Regions from separate parts of the Homo sapiens genome. Here region 2 is linked to region 1. Evidence: promoter capture Hi-C in human tissues and cell types (Jung and others, 2019). All regions are on one chromosome and are shown on one strand. The core of a region is centred on a gene start or on the middle of the fragment in contact, and the rest is flanking DNA. Distances in the headings are between cores, read along the strand shown. Region 1 holds the start of SPTBN2 (spectrin beta, non-erythrocytic 2). Region 2 overlaps SYT12 (synaptotagmin 12).

What was found. The method cuts DNA at HindIII sites, captures the fragments that hold promoters and counts their contacts. A contact is called where the count stands out against the background at its distance.
Region 2: a fragment that was not itself captured here is called in contact with the fragment with the promoter of SPTBN2 in region 1 in 2 of the 25 tissues and cell types used here (heart left ventricle and mesenchymal stem cells).

Annotation. Positions count from the first base shown.
Region 1 is chr11:66,725,353-66,732,661 of GRCh38, forward strand. SPTBN2 (spectrin beta, non-erythrocytic 2) reads right to left here and starts at 3,864. Exons shown (of 38, transcript NM_006946.4): 1 at 3,389-3,864. The HindIII fragment of the contact is 42,487 bases long and covers 1-7,309 here.
Region 2 is chr11:67,024,018-67,031,326 of GRCh38, forward strand. It overlaps SYT12 (synaptotagmin 12), which reads left to right. Exons shown (of 8, transcript NM_177963.4): 2 at 6,105-6,161. The coding sequence starts at 6,128. Among named protein-coding and RNA genes, the nearest start is that of SYT12, 4.5 kb to the left of the region's middle. RefSeq lists enhancers at 1-48, 49-549, 3,760-3,829. The HindIII fragment of the contact is 5,223 bases long and covers 210-5,432 here.

The sequences.
Region 1 (7,309 bases), core at 2,614-5,113:
GACAATATGCTGTGTTCTCAGCTTGTGTCCCCTGCTGCCATCTCTAGATTCCCACTGATTTCTATTTGCTTTTCTCCTACACATATCCAGCGCTGGTTTCTTGCCACTGAGTAGATCATTCCTCACCTATGACCAGGGTCTCCATGCTCACATTTCCTCAGTCGGCCAGCAGCCCCCCAGCTTCATGACCCCCTGTCATGAGGAAGCTGGAGAATCCTCAATCGTCCTCTCTTCCACAGATTCCTGAAGTCTGGCAATAGGGTGGTGCAGTAGCTAATCCAGATTACAGTCTCATCATACCTTATTCTTAGCAATTGACCTCAAGGCCAGGCCCAAGTAGCTTACACTGTTAGTGCTAGAAGAATGCCAACCCCCGCCGGCTGCAGGCTTGGGGTCCTGCTGGAATGTACTCCAGGCGCTGCTGGAGGCAGACTAGGCTCACCGTGCCGATCCTCCAGGGCAGTTTTCCTCTCTTTCAGCTGACATGTTAAGCTAGAAATCCTATACCCTGGGCTACAGGCTGCCTTGTATCCTAATTCTTCCTCTCACCACATCCTGCTCCTGATGAATTATTTCCCTCCCTCAGAGTTGATCATTCCCTCCTCTGTGCTTCCAGGGCACTTCGGCATGCAGCTAGTATTGTACTTATCACATCGCATTACGGTTAGTTGTTTACGTGTCTCTCTGCCCGCTCCACATTTAACTCATTGAGGACAAGGGCTGTCTTACTCGTTTTGGTGTTTTTCCAGACTCAGTACAACAGATATTCAATAAAGAGATATTGAATGACTTGACTATAATTCATTTTTTTTGGCCATGGAATTAATGTCTTTCTTAGGACTAGAGAGAAGCTCAAGGAAAGAATGAACACGGGATTGGAGAAGACCTGCTCCTGGGCTGGAATACTTTCAGGGTTGAGCTCAACAGCTCAGGTCTGGGGATTCTCAAACTTCCATGAATCACAACAACCTGGAGGACTGTTAAATCACAGGTCACCCCCCCATCCCCCAGTTTACGATTCAGTACTTCTGGGGTGGTACCTGGGAATGTGCATTTCTAACCTGTTCCCGGGTGACACTGAAGCTAATGGTCTGGGGACCACACTTTGAGGGCCACCCTTGTCCAAAGATGAGAAGCAGCTGGAATTGGTTAGAGGAGCCATGAGTGTTGAGAAGACACAAAGTTTCAGGGGTGAGTGTGACCCAGGGTTAGCTTCTAGGTCTGCTCAGGCCCTACCCCACACTAAACTCAAATATCACTTCCCCTCAGGAGCTCAGGCGATGGGAGAGGAAGATGAAGATGGAGTAGGTACCACAGGTAATGAAAGAAACAGCACAGCGAACCGCAGATATGCGGGAGGAGAACGGCAGAGCTAGAGAAGTCACGGGAAGGCAGAGTTGAACAAATGACAGTGAGATGAATAATAGATTAGAAGAAATGGGGACTTTGGCAAAGTTCAAATCTTATTTGCTTCTAAGTATAAATGGGTGGACTGGCAGAGAGATAAAACGAAAAAGAAGTCACAAATCAGCTCAGGGCCTCCAGGAAGGCAAGAGAAAGATGGGCCCAGGGCAGAAGGAAGGAACAGCAAAACCCCGACCCACCTCTCAGACTGTGTTCCTGATCAATTCCCTCGGAGGAAGTTAGGAACTGGGCTGAAGAGGGGGACTGAAATTTTATTTTCTCTTCTAGAATCCTCCAGTTATGGCAGATTTATTCAAATATTCAGATTCTTCACTCCCTTGCTATCTCCCTTCCCCAACCCGGGGTCACATCAATTTCTCTAAGGGAAGAATGTAAACTCCATCCTATCTTCTCCTCGGCCAATCCTTTGCCTTTCTGAATAAGCCAAGAGGTTGCCCCACACCTCAAGCTAAGACACATATTTGGAACTCACTCTGCCCCTCTTCACCTTCAAGGAAAACTGGTTTGTTGCTACCTCTGCCCATACCTGAAACCCCCGGGCTCTCCAGCGTTGGAACTGTGGCTGCTCCGAGAGGGGGAGGGCAGACGACATGTAGCAGGTTAAGACCGGGGCAAACCTGCACCTCACACAAGCATGCAATGTCCTGGGGTCAATGGGGTAAAGTTCCAAGCGAGTGGAAGGTAAATCACGACTGTGGCACCGGAGCCGGAACACCCCCGCGAGCAGGCCTTGCTGGGTAGTTCCGTGCGGGGCGGACCGCACAGCCCTATCAGCTTCCTGGCCACAGAAACGCCGCACGCGGCCGCTTCCCCGCCGCCCGAAGCGTCTGCTTTCTCCCCGGGCCAGTTCCGGCCACCACAGCCAACCGCGTGCCCCTCTCCCACACACTGTGGGGGAACAGAAGGGAGCGCGTGGAGCCAGCTGCCAAAGAGGCGAGGAGGAGCCCACGCGGCTCCGGGGAGGAGGGAGCCCGGCTCCCGCAGTCCGCCGGGCAGAGGCGGCCGAGCGCGCCCCCAGCACCTGGCCCGGCGCCGGCCCGTCCGCCCCGCAGCCCCGGCGACGCGAGGGGCCGGCGCTGTCAGACCCGCTCCCAGCCTCGCCGCGAACGTGTCCGTCAGCCCTAACTGTTCCAGACTCTTCTCCCGGCTCCAGAGAGGCCCGAGTCCCCCCCCCTCGGCCTTGGCCCCCACCGCCCTCATCCCGGTACCTGTGTGGCTGGCACGGGACCCTCTCCGTCCCGTCCCCGCCTGCTCCCGCCCCGGCTCACCCCGGCCGCCGGGACCCGACCCCGACCCCGACCCCGACCCCGCCGACCGCACGCGGCCGGACAAAGCGCGCCGCCCCGCGGGCCGGGACAAAGCGGGCGGGGCGCCGGCACCTACCTCGGCGCGGAGCCGCGGCCGGGCGGGCGGGGGCGCGGCGGGCGGGGGCGCACCGGTAGTTGCCGCGCCTGCAGCCCGGCCGCGACGGGCGGTTGCAGGCAGCGGCCGGGCGCACGGCGGGCGGCGGGCGGGCGCTGTCACGGGGCGCAGGCGGCGCGGGGGGCGCGCGGGGCGGGCGGCGGCGGGGCGCGTGGCGGCGGCGCGCGGGCGCGAGCGGCGGGACTGCGGCGCCGCGGAAGGAGGACAATAGCCTCCCCCTGCCGCAGGCCGCCGGCTCCCGCGGGAGGCCCGGGACCATCTGGAGCCGGCGGCCCCGCGGGGCTCTGGGCGGGGCCCGAGTCGCCCCTTCCCCGCCCAGCGCCATGGCAACCGAGGCCCCTCTCGGTGCTCCCCGCCGCTCCCCGCCCGGGGTAGTTGACCTGCCTCGGGGCGAACGCGGCAGCAGCTCCGAGGCCGGCTGCCGACCCCCAGCCACCTTCCGTGCGGGGTCCCCCCAAAACCCCGCCTTCCCGTCCTCGCTGGTCCCTGGGTCCCCCACCACAGCTTACAGGTCTTGATCTCCCCGGTTCGGACACCTCACCTTTGTCCCTATTCTGCTTTTCCTCCAAAATCCGTATCCCCGAGACACGCGATCCTTCCTCTAATGACACTGCCGACGAGGTTTCCCGAGATCCAGCCTCCGTTCCCCTTTCCTCTCCGGGCACCTCCAGTCCGTCTCCGCTAAGCATTCCTCTCACCCGTCCCCTCGCTCTCGCGTCCTCCTTCAGGCAGCTGGGCCGGCTCTCCCTCCCAGAACATCTCCATGGCACAGTGAAGATTCGTCTTCTACAGATCAGATGCTCCAAACAGGCATCTCAGCGCTTCTCAGCTCCTCTCATTTATCAACCAGGAGAATTCCGGCCTAGTCACCGTCTTGAGGGGGGTGGGGGTGGGGGCAGACATTTCTAGGCCTGACACGGCTGGGTTTCTCCTTGGTTTGTTAGCGTCTGAGTGGTCTAAGGTCCAAGGTCCTTAACCAAGGTGAACTGCTGCCTGCTTAGGAGAGGAAGGAATTATGCCCAAATCATGACAAACTCACAGAGTGCCAGGTGGGTGCTAAAAGCGCATCATCTCATGTGACACTCCCACCCCCACTCCAGCTCTGAGAAGTAGGTGCTGTTCTTCCAGATTAGAGAACTCAGCTCAGAGATGAGCCAGTGGTAACAGGGTGAGCTTTGTACAGAGCCGTTAGGTTATGTACTGCCCCTGAAGATGAGGGCCCGTTTCTATCCAGGGAATGCCTGAAATGGTCAAGTAAGGGCACTCAAAGAATGGGCTTTGAGTGAATTATTGGATTTAAGGTTTTATAATAGATTTATGGGTAATTTAGGATTTTGCTCCTTTCTGAAAAGGTATGCATACTGAAACAAATATGTGCAATTGAAGTACTTTCCAGATATGGTTTTGACAACCCTAACTAGTGGTGTCATCTACCTCGCCTTGGTTTTCCTAGTCTATAAAATGGGTTGGGAGGAGGGTTGGGGAGTTCCATTGAAAGATTACTTTGAAGTTCTCTCCTAGCTCTGATATCTGTGCTTCTACCACGAAACTGGAACTGGCTCTCTGGTGTGTACCTCACAGTTAGCTGCATTTGAGGCTATTTATTATTATTATTATTTTGAGACGGAGTCGTGCTCTGTCACCCAGGCTGGAGTACAGTGGCTTGATCTCGGCTCACTGCAACCTCCTCTTCCCGGGTTCAAGCAATTTTCCTGCCTCAGCCTCCCGAGTAGCTGGGATTACAGGTGCATGCCACCATGCCCGACTAATTTTTGTATCTTTAGTAGAGTCAGAGTTTTGCCATGTTGGCCAGGCTGTTCTTGAACTCCTGACCTCAGGTGATCTGCCTGCCTCAGCCTCCCAAAGTGCTGGGATTACAGACGTGAGCTGCCGTGCCAGGCCTGAGGCTATTTATTATTTTTAATAGCCACTCTTTCAGGCAATGGCATTAAAGAAACAAGGGCATAAACTGCAACTCTTCCCAGAGGTAGGATTATGTGTTGGTTGGTTCGGGGGAAGGAGGCACCAACCTGTGCATGACGGTCATCAGGGACACTTGGTCAGGGACATTAAAGCTGATGGGATGAGAATCAGCTGCCCATGGCCAGGCGCAGTGGCTCACCCTTGTAATCCCAGCACTTTGGGAGGCCGAGGCAGGTGGATCGCGAGGTCAGGAGTTCAAGACCAGCCTGGCCAACATGGTGAAACCCCTTCTCTACTAAAAATACACAAATTAGCCAGGCGTGGTGGTGGGCATGAAATCCCAGCTACTCAGGAGGCTGAGGCAGGAGAATCGCTTGAACCCGGGAGGCAGAGGTTGCAGTGAGCTGAGATTGTGCCACTGCACTTCAGCCTGGGCAACAAGAACGAGACTCCATCTCCAAAAAAAAAAAAAAAAATTAGAGAATCAGCTGCCCTGCCAAAGGAACTGGAACCACCAAGCTGCTGCTGCTGTACTGGTTACGGGAACTAAGGGTCTCAATGACAGCCTATAATATCGTGACCCAATTAGAAGTCAAGGGTATTAAGTCTTATGATTAGCAAAATAATATCTTTTATAATTTCCTATTTTCAGCATTTCATAATCCTTCAAGAAGCCTTGTAAGATAAACATTCTCATTCTTATTCTATTGATGAACAGACTGATGTTCAGACACCTAAGTGAATGTACAAGTTCACAGAATTAGTTCATGGTAGAAACTCCAGGTCTTCTGAATCCTAATATGTTCTTTCCTCTCTGCTAGACAGGGAGTATAGCAGAATGGTTAAAAGCATTGATTTTGGAGTCAGACTCCTTGGGTTTAAAACATAGTTCTGCCACCCACTGACTATGTGACCTTGGGCAAGTTACCTCCCTAGGATTCAGTTTCCTTACATGTAAAATGGCACCATAATGTGGGGAACATCAAATGAATTATTGCAGGTAAATGAATTATATGCAGCACATAGTAAGCACTTAATCAGTATCAGCCGTTATGATTTTACCGTATTATTTCCCATACTGTTTCCCGATTTGGAGAGGAAGCACATTGAATAAAGAGAACACTGAGATCACCTATCTCAGCTCTGTGACTGGGTTGCTTTGGAAACTTGTTATTTTGCTCTGTAGTGAACCAGTACAGTCAATGATGAAGAAAATATCTGGTTCCTTCTTATTTGAGTTGCAAAAGCGAATGGAATGATATCCACCAAGTTTGTTGAGCTTCTCAGTGAATCCACATTTGCTGCTTACATTACCAAGATTCATGGAAAGGTTTTGGCTCTGCCCACCAAACATACATACATAGCCGAATTCTCAGTTCTTGTTTCAATACCAGGGAAGAGGTGTCCCTCTTTTCACCTAAGATGGATTCTTCTGGCTCCTATGCTAAGTCTCATCCCCTTCTGCAGCCTCACGGCCCTCACTGCTGTCTCTCAGCTGGTTCCTTCCCATCAGCATTTAAACATGCTCAAGCATTTGCCAGCTTAAAAAATAATCAAGAAGCCCCGACTTCCCTCCATGCATTCCCCTTGCTCTTTATGTTCACAGTCTTCCTGAGTCATTTGCACTCATTGGCTTCACTTCCTCGCCCCTGCTCAATCAAATATTTATGCAAAAACTATATGGCTAATTATATACCAGGCACTGTGCTGGGATCTGGGGATATAATGATGAGTAAAATGGATACTGTCTGTTTTCTCTTGGAAGAGCCTGTGGTGGGATTGACAGACATTAATAAAATAACCCATCAGATATATAACCACAAAGTATAATGAGTGTTATGAATGAAAAGTTCAGGATGTTAAGAGAGAACTGAACAGAGTCATAACCTCAGATCACCTGAGCTGAGATCTGAAATATGAGAAGCATTAACCAGACAGAGTGGGGAATAATAATAGCTGTTACTAACATTAACGTGGAACTGTATTTCTAATACTTTACACATAACATTTCATTTAATCCTTTATAACAACTCCAAGAGGTAAGTATTAACCCCATTTCACAGATGAGGAAATGGAGACATTGAGAGATTAAGTACCTTACTCAGGGTCATCAAACCAGGCAAGGGTAGAGCTGGGATTTTAACCCAATCTGACCCTTGAACCCATGTTCTTAGCCACAGAGCATATGGCTAACAGGCCTGATGTTGCAGGACACATGGTGTACATAGGAAATGGAGAAAAGAGGCCGGGTGCAGTGGCTCACGACTTTGTAATCCCAGCACTTTGGGAGGCCAAAGTAAGCGGATCACAAGGTCAGGAGATTGAGACCATCCTGGCTAACACAGTGAAACCCCTTTTCTACTAAAAATACAAAAAAATTAGCTGGGCGTGGTGGCATGCGCCTGTAATCCCAGCTACTCGGGAGGCTGAGGCAGGAGAATTGCTTGAACCCGGGAGGCAGAGGTTGCAGTGAGCTGAGATCATTCCACTACACTCCAGCCTGGGCAACAGAGCAAGACTCTGTCTCTCAAAAAAAAAA
Region 2 (7,309 bases), core at 1,571-4,070, 300 kb after region 1:
TGGCGGGGCAGGGGAGGAAGCTTGCCCAGACTCAGGGCCTCAAGGCTGTAGATTTGGGCTGAAGTTGGGGGAGGGAGGTGGGGGGCCGGGAGCCTGGCCTGTGGGTGGAAGGCCCTGAGCTGGCCATCCTGGGAGCTCTCTTCCAGGGGCTGCAGAGAGACTGTGTGCACCCTCCTCCATTCCCAAAAGCCTGGGAAAGCTGCACCATGGAATGTCAGCTCCTTCTCCCCGTCAGGGGATGACAGTTTTAGAGAGCAGCAGCAATAGTGCTTCCTATTAGAAATGGGGAAATTGAGGCTCAGAGAGGGCAGGAGACCCACCGAAGTTACCACAGCCAGTGTGAAGAAGGGTTAGGACAAGTCCCCAAGCCCCCAGCCTCCCTACTCTGAAGTCTGAAAGCTTTCCTAAGCAGCTCTGCAGAGTGGGGGCTCCCAGCCTGGGTTTCAAACCCGGACTCTGCCACTTGTCAGCTCTGGTGACTGACTGACAAATAAAACACATCTGTAGGCTGGCAGCGCTGCCCACACTGCACCTCAGTTTCCTCTCCAGTACAAGGAGCAGGGTAGCAGCCCCCTCAGAGGGCTGCGGTGCTGAGATAACACAGGGCAAGTCACACAGTAGGTGCCCAATAAATGCCAGCCAGCACCTCCCAGCCAGTCTGTCCTGCGGTTTCTGTGGGCTGTTTGGGGGATGGCAGCAGGATGTGGTTATCTCAGAAAGCGGAGGAGGGGTACTTGAAAAGGTTTCAACCTAAAGATCCTGAAGAGGCTCACAGGTTGAAGGATGAGGCTCTCCTGGGCCCAACTCCCGACCCTTCCCATTGCCTTGCTAGCCAGAGAATGATGTGAGGACACTGGGCAAGGAGGTGGGGTGGAGCAGAAGGCAGGGACAGAGGGCCCCTCTCCCCCGCCGAGGCACAACATTCATGGAAAGCCAATTCTCTGACAAGCCCAGGAGGGGCCTCTGCCATGGTCTGATTCCAGCAAAGCTGGGGGAAGTGGGGGGCTCTTCCAACTCCCCACCCCAAAAGGCCTGCCTGTTCAGGAGTCAGCATGGTGACCAAGAGCCCAGGCCCAGATCCATTGCACCCTGGCACCAATCCCAGTGTTGCTACTTGTATGCTAGGTGACCTGGGGCCCCAGCTTCCTCATCTATAAAAGGGGGATCCATTAATCCACTGAATCATCATGTCCACATTGTGTACCTACTACAACCAGGCACAGTGCTAAGCACTTAGCACATGTTATGTCCACATGCATGTAGCAGTAAGGAGATATTGCTAGGTAGGTATGATCGAGCTGGAATTTGAACCTAGAGCTGTTTTCAATGAGTAAGCTCTGTGCAGTTTAGGGTCTGGGGATTTGGGACTGAACGAATTGGTCAGATGGGGAGGGGTGCTGCAGAGGTAGGGATGTGCAGTCTGGGAGCTCAGTGAGGGTCTGGAGCCACTCTGGTCCCCCATGTTATGCTCTTTGCTGTGTGTCTGGACACCGGGGATGCTCTGGTCACAGGCTGCCCTGGTCCCACTGTACCTCATTGCTATCCTCTTCTAGCCAAAGACACAGTCCTTCTGCCTGGCAGACCTCCAGGCTGCCAGCGGGAGCCCACTGAGGTGGTCCCAGGTGAGACAGAGTCAAGGGGTCTCGGGGATAGTGAGCAAAGCCCTTGAGAAGGGCACTGGCTGCACAGCAGCACTTGCGGCTTGGTCTGAGCTTCCTCCTCACTGGTTGGGTGACCTCGGGCCAATTCACTGCCCTTCTCTGAGCCTCCCTCTCCTCCTCCGTGGAGGAGGGGGTAGTAACAGGATTTGCCCCATGGGTCTTACGGGTGATGGGGAAGACGGCATGAGGGTTGTCACTGCTAATGGAAGAGGGGCTGGACTGGGCTACAGGAATGACTGCCAGGCCCAGCTCTACCACCGCTGGCTGTGTGGCTTTGGGCAAGTCACTTAACCTCTCTTAATCTCCCACAGCTTTGCTGGGCGTGGTGAGATCACACCACTTCATTCCAGCCTGGGTGAAAGAGCGAAACTCCGTCTCAAAAAAATAAATTAATTAAAAAAAAAAAGTAGCTCATTCAAAGCCCACTTTACCAGGCTTATGAGCAGGGATGCTTCCAGGGCTCAACAGGTTCTAGCAGTGAATGGAAGGATGGGAGCAGCCAGGGAAGGGGCAATGCCGACTTAGCTCCAACTCCTGTTGGAGTCGGGGGATGCAAACCCATTGTCCCCATATCTTCTAACTTTCTTTTTTTCTTTTCTTTCTTTTTTTTTGAGATGGAGTTTTGCTCTTGTTGCCCAGGCTGGAGTGCAGTGGTGCGATCTTGGCTCACTGCAACCTCCACCTCCTAGGTTCAAGCGATTCTTCTGCCTCAGCCTTCCCAAGTAGCTGGGATTACAGGCATGTGCCACCAAGCCCGGCTAATTTTGTATTTTTAGCAGAGATGGGGTTTCTCCGTGTGGGTCAGGCTGGTCTCAAACTCCCGAACTCAGGTGATCCGCCTGCCTCGGCCTCCCAAAGTGCTGGGATTACAGGCCTGAGCCACCGCGCCCGGCCAGATCTTCTAATTTTCAAAGGGAAGCTGGAAATCCTTTTTAAATCAATTTTTAATGGGAAACTCTCCCCGCACACACACACACTTTTTTTTTGAGGCACAGTCTCACTATGTTGTCCAGACTGGTTTTGAACTCCTGGGCTCAAGAGATCCTCCCACACCAGCCTCCCCAGTAGCTGGGACTACAGGCATGACCCACTGCACCCAGCTAAATTTTTCAATTTTAAAATGTTGGCAACTCACTTAAATGTAAGACAAATAAACACATCTGTAGGCTGGCAGTGCTGCCCACACTGCCCAGACTAGGGGTTAGGGGGTCTGTATGGGCCATCACCAGGCTGCTAACCACAGCAACCAATATGTGCCAAGCCTGACTACACGTACCTTCTCATTCCACCCTCCTGGCAGCCTCACATCTGCTTTACAGGTGGGGAACTGAGGCTCTAAGAGACTAAGAAAATTACCCAAGGCCACTGCAGCTAGCCAGGGGCAGGTATGGGAGTCAGAGCTGGGTGCAGCTGACTACAAACCCTGTGCTCAGGATGACACCCTCTAGGAGCCTCGACCTCTCTCCCAGTTCTCTTCTCCCTCCACTCAGGCAAATGAGCTCTGCCTTCACAGGGCACCAGGCTGGAACATATGTCTGGAGGCCAGGGGCGGTGGCTCACGCCTGTAATCCTAGCACTTTGGGAGGCCAAGATGGGAGGATCATTGAGGTCAGGAGTTCAAGACCATCCTGGCCAACATGATGAAACCCCGTCTCTACTGAAAATACAAAAACTAGCTGGGCATGGTGGCTCATGCCTGTAATCCCAGCTACTTGGGAGGCTGAGGCAGGAGAATCACTTGAACCCAGGAGGCAGAGGTTGCAGTGAGCTGAGATCGCGCCATTGCATTCAAGCCTGGGTGACACAGTGAGGCTCTGTCTCAAAAAAAAAAAAAAAAAAAAAAAAAAGAAGGAACTTCTGTCTGGGGTGTGCCTAGCAGTCATTCACACCCTCACTGAAATCTCAGCTCCCTGGGAAAGGATGTCGTGTTAAAGGGAGAGGAAAGAACAGACAGCGTGGGAGTCTGGGGTCTGAGCTGGGCCAGCCATGGAGGTGATGGGGCCCCCGACAGCCAGAGGCCAGATGCAGCTTGAGGCTTTGTCCCGTACCACGCCTGTTGTGCTGTGGGGTGTACTTTGCCATGCATACCTTGCTCGCGTGCTGCGGGCATTGGCTGTCCCAGCTTGGCCCCACTCTTGCAAAGTCAGCTTGTGCCAGGTAAGCAGGAAAAAGCCGATGGCTTATCTGATTCCCGGCAAGGCAGAAGCAGGCTGGGAGGTGCGTGTGTGTACATTAGCATGTGTTTCAGCGTATCCAGACCAGCTTCCGCCAGGAGCTAGGACCACCTTGGGCAGGTACATGGTGACCCATTTGACCTGCAGATTCTTAGGAAACTTTTTGGAAACCATATGCCCACTTGCAGTGAGACACAGTGGTTAGGAGCATGGAGCCAGTTGGCCTGGGTTGAACAGTTTATTAGCTGTGTGGCCTGGGGCAAATTACGCCCTGGGACTCTCACCCGCAAACCAGAGATAATAATAGTACCTACCTCATGGGGCTGTTAGGCAAATTAAATGAGGTCAGATAAATGCAAAGTGCTTAGAATGGCGCTTGATGTGTAAGAAGGGCTCGACAAGGTTCTCTATTACTATCATTATCTCCAGCCCAGGCCCAGGAATGAGCTTCCACTCTAGTCAGGATGGGTGAAGCCCTTCCTGGCTTAGCACCACCCTTCCATCACCATGACAACGCACATCTCCTTGTGGGAGTGGGGGCAGCATCAGGAGAACTGGAAGCCAGGAGCTGGCTGTGCACCTTATCTGACCTGCTTCTAGAGGCTCCTGGGCACCTCCAGGACTTAAGGGGGTAGACTAGGACTTATGGCACCCCAAATGTGCTGGATAACCCTGACTGGAGCATGGCACCGAAGCTTCTTGACTCCAAAGCCACAGACTGGGGAGAACCCCGGAATTCCTGAAAATGTGGAGGGCCTTAGCTTTACCCTCTGATTCGACCCCAGTCCCAAAGGGAACCTACAGGATGCTCCGAGGGGTTGGGAATTGGTGGGTCACACTCCCCAAGGACTTTTTATACTGCGTCTGAATGGTGTTTGCATTTTTTTGCAAATTGGTTGCTACCTTTAAAACTCAGGAAATGGCACATAAAAAATTCAGGTATCTGGCTTTTCTTTAAAGTGCCAGAAGATCAAGCCACGGTGGTTGGCATTCCTGCTGGGGCAAAAATGCAGCTGCCCTTGGGCCAGGCCATCACTCTGCAGTTCTTACCTCCCCTTCCCCTTGCCCTACCACCCTGCACCAGGCCTGCAGGCTTACCATGTGTAACCACCTCTCTGAACTACAAGGGAATCCAGAAATTGGGGTGGGCATTATCCTGGCCCTCGGTGCCCTTGACCTGAGATCAGTGCAGCCCATCCCAAATTCCTTTTTCCAGGACTCCCACATACACCCACTTAGAACACATCTGTGAGCCAGATTTACTTCTTAGCACACTAATAAAACAATGAGCAGTCACCTAGGTTCAGGTAATGGGTTGTACGAGCTCCCAGACCTTTCTAGAACAACTTAAGCCTCAGTCATTCCTAAAAGCTGGGGGTGGAGGATGGGGTGGGGAAGAAACCATGCCAAGCAGTGAAAGGACTGATAATAGAATATTGCAGACACGCAGCCTTTCCTTCCCAATCAAAATGGAAGCATTTGAAGGAAGGCTCTGGCTCAAGCCAGGGGGGCCTTGCTCTAATGAGTCACCTACTGCGTCGCCGCTGGTCAGCCTGATGTTGTTAGGATGGAAATGAGCTGGGGTTGCCAGATTTGGCAAATACAAAAACAGGACACCCAGGAGCATTGATGTTTTGGATGAACAATGGAAAAGATTTTGGCGTAAATATGTCCTGTGGAATATTTGGGACACACATATTAAAAACGTATTTGAAATTTGGCCAGGCGCTGTGGCTCACACCTGTAATCTCAGCACTTTGGGAGACCAAGGCTGGTGGATCACCTGAGGCCAGGAGTTCGATATCAGCCTGGCCAACATGGTGAAACCGCATCTCTACAAAAAATACAAAAATTAGCCGGGTGGGGTGGCACATGCCTGTCATCCCAGCTACTTGGGAGGCTGAGGCAGGAGATCACTTGAACCCAGGGGCAGAGGCTGCAGTGAGCCGAGATCGCGCCACTGCACTCTAGCCTGGGCAACAAAGAGAGACTCCATCTGAAAAAACAAAACAAAACAAAACAAAATCTGAAATTCACATGCCACTGGGCATCCTGTGTTTTATCTGGCAATCCTGAGAAGAGTCTTAGAATGCTTGAAAAGAGCTTTAAACATCATTTCTTAAAATGCCAAGCCTCCCTTTGGTGGCACTCCCCTTATAGCTGAGTGTAAGCTCTGGATGACAGGCACGTGGGTGCCAGGAGGCCAGGACCTAGGAGCGGGACGCTGACTCTCTGCAGCCCTCTCCTCTCACTCTCTTTTCCCTTCCAGTCACAGTCACTGCAGCAGACATCATGGCTGTGGATGTGGCAGAATACCATCTGAGCGGTGAGTGCCCAGGGCAAACCCCTCCTGGATCACGCCTGCGAGACCCTTACACCAGGCCTGGGTGGGAGGTGTCTGTGGGACATGAATAATTAGTCCTTGCCATTAATGTCTTCACTGTCAAGGACAGTCAGTGACTTGCCCAAGGTCAGACAGCCCGCCCTGGGGACATCAAGCTTGGCCCAGTCTGAGGTCTCCTCATCTTGCCACTCAAGTGGCTCCTTCTTGTTAAAGTGACTTTCTCTCTTTCACTTGAAAGGGTCCCCGGGGAGACCCTCATCCTGCTGCACCCTGGGGATGAGCCTGTGACTCGGAATCCACTCACCGAGGCCTTCTGTGGAGACTGTCAAGTAGCCAAGGGAAAATAAGCCCAGGAAGGTCAAGGTTAGATTCATGGGGCGTTAAACTCAGAGACCACCCAGTCCAGAGGCAGAGGTTATAGTGAGCTGAGATCACACCACTGCACTCCAGCTTTCCAGCCTGGGCAACAGAGTGAGACTCCGTCTCATCAGAAAAAAAAAGAGGCCACCCAGTCCAGGGCCATGGCTCCCACCTTGTCACCCTTTGCCTCAGCAGGGAGATGGGAGCTGGCTGGGAGATGCCTCGAGACTCCAGACATACTCCTGCAGCCCTCCCCATGGACAGCGGATGGGGTCAGAGAAGAAACATACCAGCCGTCTTTTCTCCCTTTGTTCCTCTCCTCATTCACAGATGGGAGAAGTGAGGCTTAGAGAGTAACGGGGTCAGGATGTGCACTCAGGTCTCCTGACTCCCAGCCCCGTGCTCCCCATCACTCTAGCCCCTACCCTAACGCAGCCCCTGGGGAGCCCAGGGCTGATCTGAAGGGTGTGCCCGGGAATCACCTTTCCCATCACTTTTTCCCAAAAGTGAGCCAGGGAGCCGCACTTTTCACCCTCAGGCTCACAGGTCTTGCCCCCCTGCCCCCACCCTGCCCCCTACCCGTATGGCCTTGGGCAAGTGGTGAAACCGGAACTTCTACTTACTTATCTGTAAAATGCAAAAGATGAGGCTTGCCTCAGGGCTGTTGGGAAGATTTAGAGAGCTGATGGTTGTGCAGCGCCCAGCATGGTGCAAACGCCACTCTTCCAGTGGCAGCGCTTTGCACACGCTGTTCCCCTGTCCTGGAGTCC